Linked DNA regions of Homo sapiens: region 2 is linked to region 1. Evidence: promoter capture Hi-C in human tissues and cell types (Jung and others, 2019). All regions are on one chromosome and are shown on one strand. The core of a region is centred on a gene start or on the middle of the fragment in contact, and the rest is flanking DNA. Distances in the headings are between cores, read along the strand shown.

Region 1 (5,016 bases), core at 384-2,883:
TCGTTATGTAATGGGGGCTTGTAAAGATTACTGAACAGGGTAGTAGCATAATCATCAATATCTGTGTTTTAGGAGGAAAACTGGCAGCAGTGTGTAAAATAGGATAAAGTGATGGAAAATAGTGGAGTCAGGAGAGTATTGCAAAGGTGTAGACGAGAGTTGATGGTAATTGCTGTGAGAACTGGAAAAATTGGACTAATTAAAGAGGTATGGGCTGGGCGCAGTGGCTCACACCTGTAATCCCAGCACTTTGGGAGGTCGAGGCGGGCGGATCATGAGGTCAGGAGATCAAGACCTTCCTGGCTAACATGGTGAAATCCTGTCCTACTAAAAATACAAAAAAATTAGCCGGGTGTGGTGGCACACACCTGTAGTCCCAGCTACTCGGGAGGCTGAGGCAGGAGAATGGCGTGAACCCTGGAGGTGGAGCTTACAGTGAGCCGAGATCGCACCACTGCACTCCAGCCTGGGCGACAGAGCGAGACTCTGTCTCAAAAAAAAAAAAAAAAGAGGTATGAAGGACAATCAATTGTAGAAGCCATAGGATTTGGTTGGATATGAGGAGTAAGGGAGATAAGGATTTATTTCTTTCTTTTTTTGAGACAGAGTCTTGCTCTGTTGCCCAGGCTGGAGTGCAGTGGTGCAATCTCGGCTCACTGCAACCTCTGCCTTCCAGGTTCAAGCGATTCTTTTGCTTCAGCCTCCCAAGTAGCTGAGATTACAGGCACGCGCCACCACGCCCGGCTAATTTTTGTATTTTTAGTAGAGACGGGGTTTCACCATGTTAGCCAGGATGGTCTCAAACTCCTGACCTCAGGTGATCCGCCCGCCTTGGCCTCCCAAAGTGCTGGAATTAGAGACGTGAGCCACAGCGCCCGGCCCCTAGAGTACGGATTTCAATGGGTTAAGGGTTTCTGGTCTGAACATCTGAAGATGCCTTTCCTTAACTGAATGCAAGCTCAGGAACGTGTAGATTCTAGGATTAAGTATGATTTTCTCCCGTTATTTGAAATGCCTGTGGATCCCGTGTGATGCTAACCACCTGGACAGTTAGAGTAGGTGTGGGGAAATTTCTTCTAACAAAGGAAAGGAATATTTTTGTAATGAAAACAGCTCATTTTTATAGTTCGCAACCATTAGTGCCCCAAACTCTGAGGTAGTTATTACCTCGCCAGCGGTAAAAGCTTGATTATAGTCCCTGATTACCGACTGTGTGAAGGTCCTTGTTTCCAGCAACTTCCATAGGCAAAATGATATTAATTGTGATTAATTATCGTGTGGCATAATACAAAGACCAGATGATGTATTATGGCTTCCGGAGGGCGCCTGCATCGTTTTTCGCTGGAGCCCTCGGGGCAGGGGAACTGGAGAGCTCCCTGGGTGGCCTTTGGCCCTTCCCTGGTCAGAGCCCGCCAGCTGCGAGGTGCCCCCAGCCATGAGGTCTGGGTCTTCAGGCTCTCCCGACTTCGGTGCCTTGACCTTGGGCAGAAGGCCCTGTTAACCTTCCTCGCTCACGGACTCGAGCGACCAGCGCCGGGGACGGGGCGGGCCGTCCTTAGGCCCCGCCCCTTCGCCTCCGCCCCGCCCCGCCCCGCTCCTGGCCGCCGGCTCCCTCCGGCAGCAGGGAGATGCGCGCCTGCGCCGGCCCTCGCCTCGGAGCAGCCATGATGGTGGGTGTTCTCCGCGGCGCCGAGTCCCGGGAGCGCGGTGGGGGCAGCGGGCGCGGGGCGGGCGCGGGGACCGCGCCAGCCTGTCACTAATGTCTCCCTTTGTGTCTCCCCCATCTCATCCTTTTCCCCGGCGCGCCGTGCCCGCCGACCCCACAGGAAGGCCTGGACGACGGCCCGGACTTCCTCTCAGAAGAGGACCGCGGAGTAAGTTCTGCCTTCCTTTCGCTCGCGGGACCCTGGACCCTCCTTCCCCATCCTGGGTCCCCGGGTGTGGTACGGGGATGGGTCCCCAGCCGCGCGGCACTCCCTCCCCGTAGTCCTCCTTTCGGTTTCCTCGCTGCACCGCGCCCCACCCTCCCGCAGCCCTTCCTCCCTAGGGGCCGCTCGGCTCCGATTCCCGGGGACCCGCGGCCGCTTTCTTGTCCCCCGCCGCTGTTCGGGCCTTCTGGTGGACCTCCACTCCCACGCGGGGCGGGGTGCAGGTGGCGAAGTGGAAATGGAGGCGGGAGATGGAACGCCCCCACCCTCCCTCGACACTTTGGGGCCATGAAAACCCATTCTCGGACCTTCCCAGCGGCACCCTCAATTTTCACCCGGTGTGGACATCTCGAACTTGCTCCCGCCCACCCTTCTGTCTCTCTCAAATAGTACAGGTGTAGTCTACATTACCATTTTGCAAGGATTTTTATAGTAGCCGAATCAACTCCTGTCCAGTGCCCTACTAGATTATGCAAAGTGCAGGTAGCCCATGGTATCTTTACTTTTTCTAATATCCAACAAATCCTGTCTTTGGCAGGATTTCCTTGGTGTTTTATTCCCCCTTAGCTTCTTTGAGGTATATTGACAAATACTGTTGATAATTGTATATACTTAAGGTATACATTATATTTTAATACACGAATACATTGTGAAATGAGTACCAAAATCAACCTGACATATCCATCACCTCACCTAGTTACCATTTTTTTTTGTGTGAGAACATTTGAGATCTAAGCAAATTTCAAGTATGTACCCTTTGACCAACATCGACGCTCCACCCACTCACCCCCCACATACACACTCCGCCAGGCCTTTGATAACCTCCATTCTGCCCTTGGTGTTCTGAGGTTAGTTGCATTCTACTTCAGAAAGAGCCTTCCGGGCTCTGATTCCTCCCTCCCACCCCACTCTCCACCCCCTTTTTCCTTGGCTGAAGGGTGGTAATCTTTATAGTCCCTTGTACAAGTGAGCACTTGGAAAATGTTGATATATGATAATTACCATTCAGCAAGGTTCCATGGTTCCTTCACATTTCACAGCCTGCACTTCAGTTTTCCCTTTTGCTTTTTCTTATCCGTTTTAATGTGAGAGAGACATCTGTTAGTGCATATTTGGTAGGTGATAAAATATTGTGGGATGTTATTGCTGTTTGTAATAACAGATGAGGTAGTTAGTATGAACTGATGACTTTTATAAAACTTTTATTTATTTATTTGGTTTTATGAGACAGTATCTCCCTTTGTTGCCCAGGCTGGAGTGCAGTGGCATGGTTATAGCTCACTGCAGCCTTGACCTCCTGGGCTTAAGTGATCCTCCCACCTCAGCCTCCCAAGTAGCTGGGACTACTGGCACGGGCCACCATGCCTAGCTGGGTTTTTGTTTGTTGGCTTTTTGAGACGGAGTCTTGCTCTGTCACCCAGACTGGAGTGCAGTAGCGCTATCTTGGCTCACTGCAAGCTCCGCCTCCCGGGTTCACGCCATTCTCCTGCCTCAGCCTCCCGAGTAGCTGGGACTACAGGCGCCCGCCACCACGCCCGGCTAATTTTTTGTATTTTTAGTAGAGACGGGGTTTCATCATGTTAGCCAGGATGGTCTCGATTTCCAGACCTCGTGATCTACCCACCCCGGCCTCCCAAAGTGCTGGGATTATAGGCGTGAGCCACCACGCCCGGCCTGTTTGTTTTTATAGAGACAGGGTCTCACCATGTTGCCCAGGCCAGTGTCAAACTCCTGGGCCTAAGTGATCCTCCTGCGATTATAGGCGTGAGTCACTGTGCCCAGCCGAGCTTTTAAATAGTAAGAAAGATGGAGAAGGTGCTGCATACTTTTATAAATTAATTTCTCAGTGTAAACAAAGGCATTATTTAGAATTTCAGGTTAGAGCAAAAGCATCATATAGAATTACTAGTTGTTGGTAAGATTTTTAGTTTCGGCCAGGCACAATGGCTCACACCTTTAATCCCAGCATTTTGGGAGGCCGAGGCAAGAGGATTGTTTAAGGCAGGAATTCAAGATCAGCCTGGGCAACATAGCAAGACCTCATCTGTACCTAAAAATTTTAAGACCAGGCACGGTGGCTCACGCCTGTAATCCCAGCACTTTGGGAGGCCGAAGTGAGTGGATCACCTGAGGTCAGGAGTTCGAGACCAGCCTGACCAACATGGTGAAACCCTGTCTCTACTAAAAATACAAAAATTAGCTGGGCATGGTGGCGCATGCCTGTAATTCCAGTTACTTCAGAGGCTGAGGCAGGAGAATCACTGGATTCATTCACTGGAACCTGGGAGGTGGAGGTTGCAGTGAGCTGAGATTGCACCATTGCACTCCAGCCTGGGCAACAAGAGCAAAACTCCATCTCAAAAAAAGAAAAAAAAGAAAAAACAATTTTTTTTTTTTTTGAAACGGAGTCTCGCTCTTTCGCCCAGGCCGAAGGCCCGACTGCAGTGGTGCTATCTTGGCTCACTGCAAGCTCCGCCTCCCGGATTCACGCCATTGTCCTGCCTCAGCCTCCTGAGTAGCTGGGACTACAGGCGCCCGCCACCGCACCTGGCTAATTTTTTTGTATTTTTAGTAGAGACGGGGTTTCACCGTGTTAGCCAGGATGGTCTCGATCTCCTGACCTCGTGATCCGCCCGCCTCTGCCTCCCAAAGTGCTGGGATTACAGGCGTGAGCCACCGCGCCTGGCCAACAATTTTTTTTTAAACTTAGGCAAGCTTGGTGGTATATACCTGTAGTCCTAGCTATTTGAGAGGCTGAGAGCTTGAGAACAATGAGCTATGGCTTGAGAGAGCCAGGGTGACAGAGTGAGGTCCTGTCTCTAAAAAAATTTTTAAAATTGTATTTCGGGTTTTAAAATAGCGGAAACTAGCAGAGTTACTTAATGAAGTATGAGGAGTTGATTATAGCACAATTAAACTAATTATTCTAAATATAAAGCATATGACCTTTAGATAACTTTATGTCCTATTTTTGGTGTCTACTAGCACAAGCAAACAGGATTTGCTTTCTTGGAGGATCTTAATAATGTTCAGTAAAAATACTAATTTTTGAGTATGTTGATGTTGTGAAAAGTATTTTTTGGTGAAT
Region 2 (4,817 bases), core at 262-2,761, 380 kb before region 1:
TAATAATTGAACTCATGCTCACAGTGTTTCACACATTTTTCCATTTAACATCCATTTGGAAGCATTTTATAAAACCAGTAGATATTCTTGTAACAAGCCTGAGCAATATAGTGAGATTCCATCTCTACAAAAAAAAAAAACTAGCTGGCATAGTGGAATATGCCTATAGTCCCAGCCACTTGGGAGACTGAGGCAGGAGGACCACTTGAGTCCATGAGTTCGACACTGCAGTGAGCTTATGATCATGCAACTGCACTCCAACTTGGGCAACAGAGCAAGACCATGGCATGTCTCTTTAAAAATTAACACGGGTGAAAAAAGAAAAAATATTTCTGTAACACATAACCTTGAGGTTATACAGCATTCTATCAGATGGCTGTATCATTTATTAAATAACGCCCTACTATTAGACATTTGACGTTTTTCCAATTTTTTTTTTAATTTTTATGTATTTATTTATTTATTTTTGAGACAAAGTTTCACTCTGTTGCCCAGGCTGGAGTGCAGTGGTGCGATCTCGGCTCACTGCCACTTCTGCCTCCTGGGTTCAAGGGATTCTCGTGCCTCAGCCTCCCAAGTGGCTAGGATTACAGGCGCCTGCCACCAGGCCTGGCTAATTTTTGTATTTTCAGTAAAGACGGGGTTTCACCATGTTGGTCAGGATGGTCTCAAACTTCTGACCTCATGATATGCCCGCCTTGGCCTCCCAAAATGCTGGGATCACATGCATGAGCCATCATGCCTGGCCTCCAATTTCTTTTTTAAATTTATTTATTTATTTATTTTGAGGCACAGTTTTGCTCTTGTTGCCCATGGTGGAGTGCAATGATGCCATCTCAGCTCACCGCAACCTCTGCCTCCCGGGTTCAAGCAATTCTCTTGCCTCAGCCTCCTGAGTAGCTGGGATTACAGGCACACGCCACCACGTCCAGTTATTTTGTATTTTTAGTAGAAACGGGCTTTCTCCATGTTGGTCAGGCTGGTCTTGAACTCCCGACCTCAGGTGATCCACCCGCCTAAGCCTCCCAAAGTACGGGGATTACAGGTGTGAGCCACTGTGCCCGGCCTAAAAAAATTTTTTTTTTTAAACGGTGTCTAGCTCTGTCACCCAGGCTGAAGGGTAGTGGCACGATCTCGGCTCAATGCAACCTTCGCCTCCCAGATTCAAGCGATTCTTCTGCCTCAGCCTCCCAAGTAGCTAGGATTACAGGCACCCACTACCACGCCCAGCTAATTTCTGTATTTTTAGTAGAGACAGGGTTTCACTGTGTTGGCCAGGCTGGTCTCGAACTCCTGACCTCATAATCCGCCCGCCTCAGCCTCCCAACGTGGTGCGCCCAGCCTGAAAATTTTTTAAATTTATTTTTTGTAGAGATGAGGTCTTGCTATATTGCCCAGGCTGGTGTCCAACTTCTGGGCTCAAGCAATCCTCCCACCTCAGCCTCCCGAAGTGCTGGGATTACAGATATGAGCCACTGTGCATGGCAGTGTTTCCAATTTCCTGATATTAAAAATACCGCCAATATAATTGGTACATAAATGTTTCTTCTTTGACACTATGTTATGACACCTCTTATAAGCTGAATTTGGAACAAATGGTATGACCATTTAAGGCTTTTTGCTTTTATGAGGCAAATCTCTTCCATAAAAGTTTAATCTCATCCCTATTTCACTACATTTTCACAATCCCCAATACAATCTTTGTCAACTTGAAAATCAAGAAATGAGATATTTTAATTTGCACTCTTCTGATTAGTGGCAACTTTTTATATGCAGATCACTATTATCAAATAAAGACACATAATGTTACAAAAAAAGTTTTTCCCCTAAATTAAGAACCACCACCAAAAACTCAGATAGAAATACACTTAATAAGAACATGTGTGTGGCTGCATACAGTGGCTCAAGCCTGTAATCCCAGCCCTTCGGGAGGCTGAGGTGGGAGGATCATTTGAGCCCAGGAGCTTGGGACCAGCCTGGGCAACAAAGGATATTTTATAAGACAGGGTCTTTACAAAAAGTTTTTAAAAAAATTAGCAGGGCATGGTCAGGCATGGTGGCTCATGCCTGTAATTCCAGCACTTTGGGAGGCTGAGGCAGGTGGATCACCTGAGGTCAGGAGTTCGAGACCAGCCTGGCCAACATGGTAAAACCCTGTCTCTACTAAAAATACAAAAATTTAGATGGGCATGGTGGTGGGCACCTGTAATCCCAGTTACTCAGGAAGCTGAGACAGGAGAATCACTTGAACCCAGGAGGTGGTGGTTGCAGTGAGCCAAGATCGCACCATTGCACCCCAGCCTGGGTGACAGAGGGAGACTCCGTCTCAAAAAAAAAAAAAAAAAAAAGCTGACAGACAAGAAGAGGGATATAAGTGTTAAAATAAAAAACAGTAACCTACCTTCCATAAAATGGAATTCTTGCTTTGGTAGCATTCTGTTTTAGTTGGTCAAAAGCCCCTGGAAGATAAAGAGTTCATGAATCCTCAAACTTGAAAATAAAAATTATATAAAACAATTTTCAAATTTCAAGACATTACCTGCTCTGAATGTGTCTGCACATATTAAACAGGTCTTCCAACCTTTCCTCTGGTAATAATATGCTAGCTGGGTGAGAAAAGATTTAAAAATATAATATCATAAAATATAACAAACTATACATATAATTTTTTCTGTTTTTCCTTATTATTTACCTAAGGAGTAAAATAAAACTGCTTATAATTCTCCTGAAAATATTATTAAAGATTTTTGAATGTGGCAAATTTCCTACAAAGTTTTATATTCTAATTGTCATGCAGTAGCATTCAAATATAAAATGATCAAGTAGCAAATGATCATAGCAAAAAATGTTAACTACTATTAATGTTAATTAAAAACAAACAACAACAAAACGATCTAAAAATCATCCTTTTCTCTTTTTCCCTCTCAAACTGTAACATACGTGAAGCTTGTGGAAAAATCTTGTAATATTGTTGAGACATGCAATTTGGGAGAAAGGAGTGGTAAACTGAATTAAAAATTAGCATAAAGCGGTCAAGGCTACAGTAAGCTATGTTTGCGTGCCACTGCACTCAAGCTTGGGCAATAAAAGTAAGACTCTGTCTAAAAAAATATGGCATAAGGATACACAAAATGAAGATCTATAGTATGCTGGGTGGGAACCTGAAAAAGGAGTCCTGAGCCATAGAGGATAAAGTAAACTCCATGTTCTCTTCTCCAAAAATCACACACTCACTTCCTGAAAGGATAGGAATGGTCTTTTTTTAATAAAAGAAATAGCATAGTTACAGATGTCTACCTTCTTACAAAAAAAAAATCATAAGAAACTATGAGGACCTCTCCTCTTATCCTAAAAAAAACTATTTAAAAACATACATCAAGTAACACAAAATTATAAAGCAACAATATTATAAAGCCTGGCTTTATATCTTAATATGTTATTAATATATTTTAATGTAAATATATTTTAATAAAATCTATTTTATGTAAATATATTTTAATAAAATCTATTTTATGTAAATATATTTTAATAAAATCTATTTTATGTAAATATATTTTAATAAAATCTATTTTATGTAAATATATTTTATTATAATATAAATATATTTTAATAAAATATATTTTATGTAAATATATTTTATTATAATATAAATATATTTTATGTAAATATATTTTATATAAAATAACATTATTTATAATATATAAATGCATTCTAATAATTATAATTAATAAAATATATATTTCAACATTATAAAGCCAGGCTTTACATTTTTATATTAAATACAAAACTTGATTTATACAAACCTATCTTCCATATGACTTCTTTTTAAATTAAGTTCAATTTACCTTTGAACATGTTGTTGTTTTACCACTCCCTTGCAATCCAACAAACATAATCACATTTTGTTTTCCTTTAGTGGGTGTCCATGCCTTAACTCCAGGGTCTACAAGCTAAATACCAAAAATAAATTAAAAATAAAATCAGGTTAACATACATATAAATTCAAAACCCCTTCCCCACAACTTTTTTTTCCTTTTTTGAGACAGGGTCACACTCTTGTCACCCAGGCTGGAGTGCAGTGGCATAATCAGAGCTCACTGCAGCCTCAACCTCCTGGGCTCAAATGATGCTCCCACTTCAGCCTCCCAAGTAACTGGGACTACAGGCACACGCCACCACACCTAGTTAACTAAAAAAATTTTTTTTTGTAGAGACAGGGTCTTGCCATGTTGCCCAGGCTGGTTTCCAACTTCTGGGTTCAAGCAATCCTTCTGTCTCAGCCTCAAAGTGCTGGGATTTCAGGCGTGAGCCACTGTGCTGCCACAACTTTTAAATTATATAAATAAGGACATTTTCATGTAAAAGCTACCATAAGCTATTATAATACAATTATTCCCCTTTGTAAAGACAGAGTAAAATTTAAGAACATAAATTTAAGAAGTCATAATCAAGTCTATACTCCAAACCAATTCAGAGGTAAAGATCTCACAGCATTTTTTAGAACAAGCTGGAGTATAAAATGTGAAACCAAATTTAAGCCACAGGAGGAATCTACATCAGCACTACAGAAATGTAATACAAAAATGTATATGAAGGCTACACATGAATTTTAAAATTTCCAGTACTGACATTTAAAAAGTAAAAACAGGTGATACTAATTTTAGTATCTACCCCAATACATCTAAAAAATTATCATTTTCATATGTAATCTATATAAAAAATTAATGAGATATTTTACATTTCTTTTCCCATACCAAGTCTGAAAACCTGGTGTGTATTTTATATGTAAAACACATCTCAGTTTGGACTAGCCACAT

What was found. Contacts are between HindIII fragments. The study calls those that stand out against the background at their distance.
Region 2: a contact is called between a fragment that was not itself captured here and the fragment with the promoter of SNX6 in region 1, in 1 of the 25 tissues and cell types used here (aorta).

Annotation. Positions count from the first base shown.
Region 1 is chr14:34,626,765-34,631,780 of GRCh38, reverse strand. It overlaps SNX6 (sorting nexin 6), which reads left to right and starts at 1,633. Exons shown (of 14, transcript NM_152233.4): 1 at 1,633-1,670; 2 at 1,827-1,874. The coding sequence starts at 1,665. RefSeq lists an enhancer at 1,310-1,359 and a silencer at 1,530-1,879. The HindIII fragment of the contact is 20,741 bases long and covers 1-5,016 here.
Region 2 is chr14:35,006,416-35,011,232 of GRCh38, reverse strand. It overlaps SRP54 (signal recognition particle 54), which reads right to left. Exons shown (of 16, transcript NM_003136.4): 5 at 3,846-3,950; 6 at 2,540-2,606; 7 at 2,402-2,459. Among named protein-coding and RNA genes, the nearest start is that of SRP54, 26 kb to the right of the region's middle. The HindIII fragment of the contact is 7,325 bases long and covers 1-4,817 here.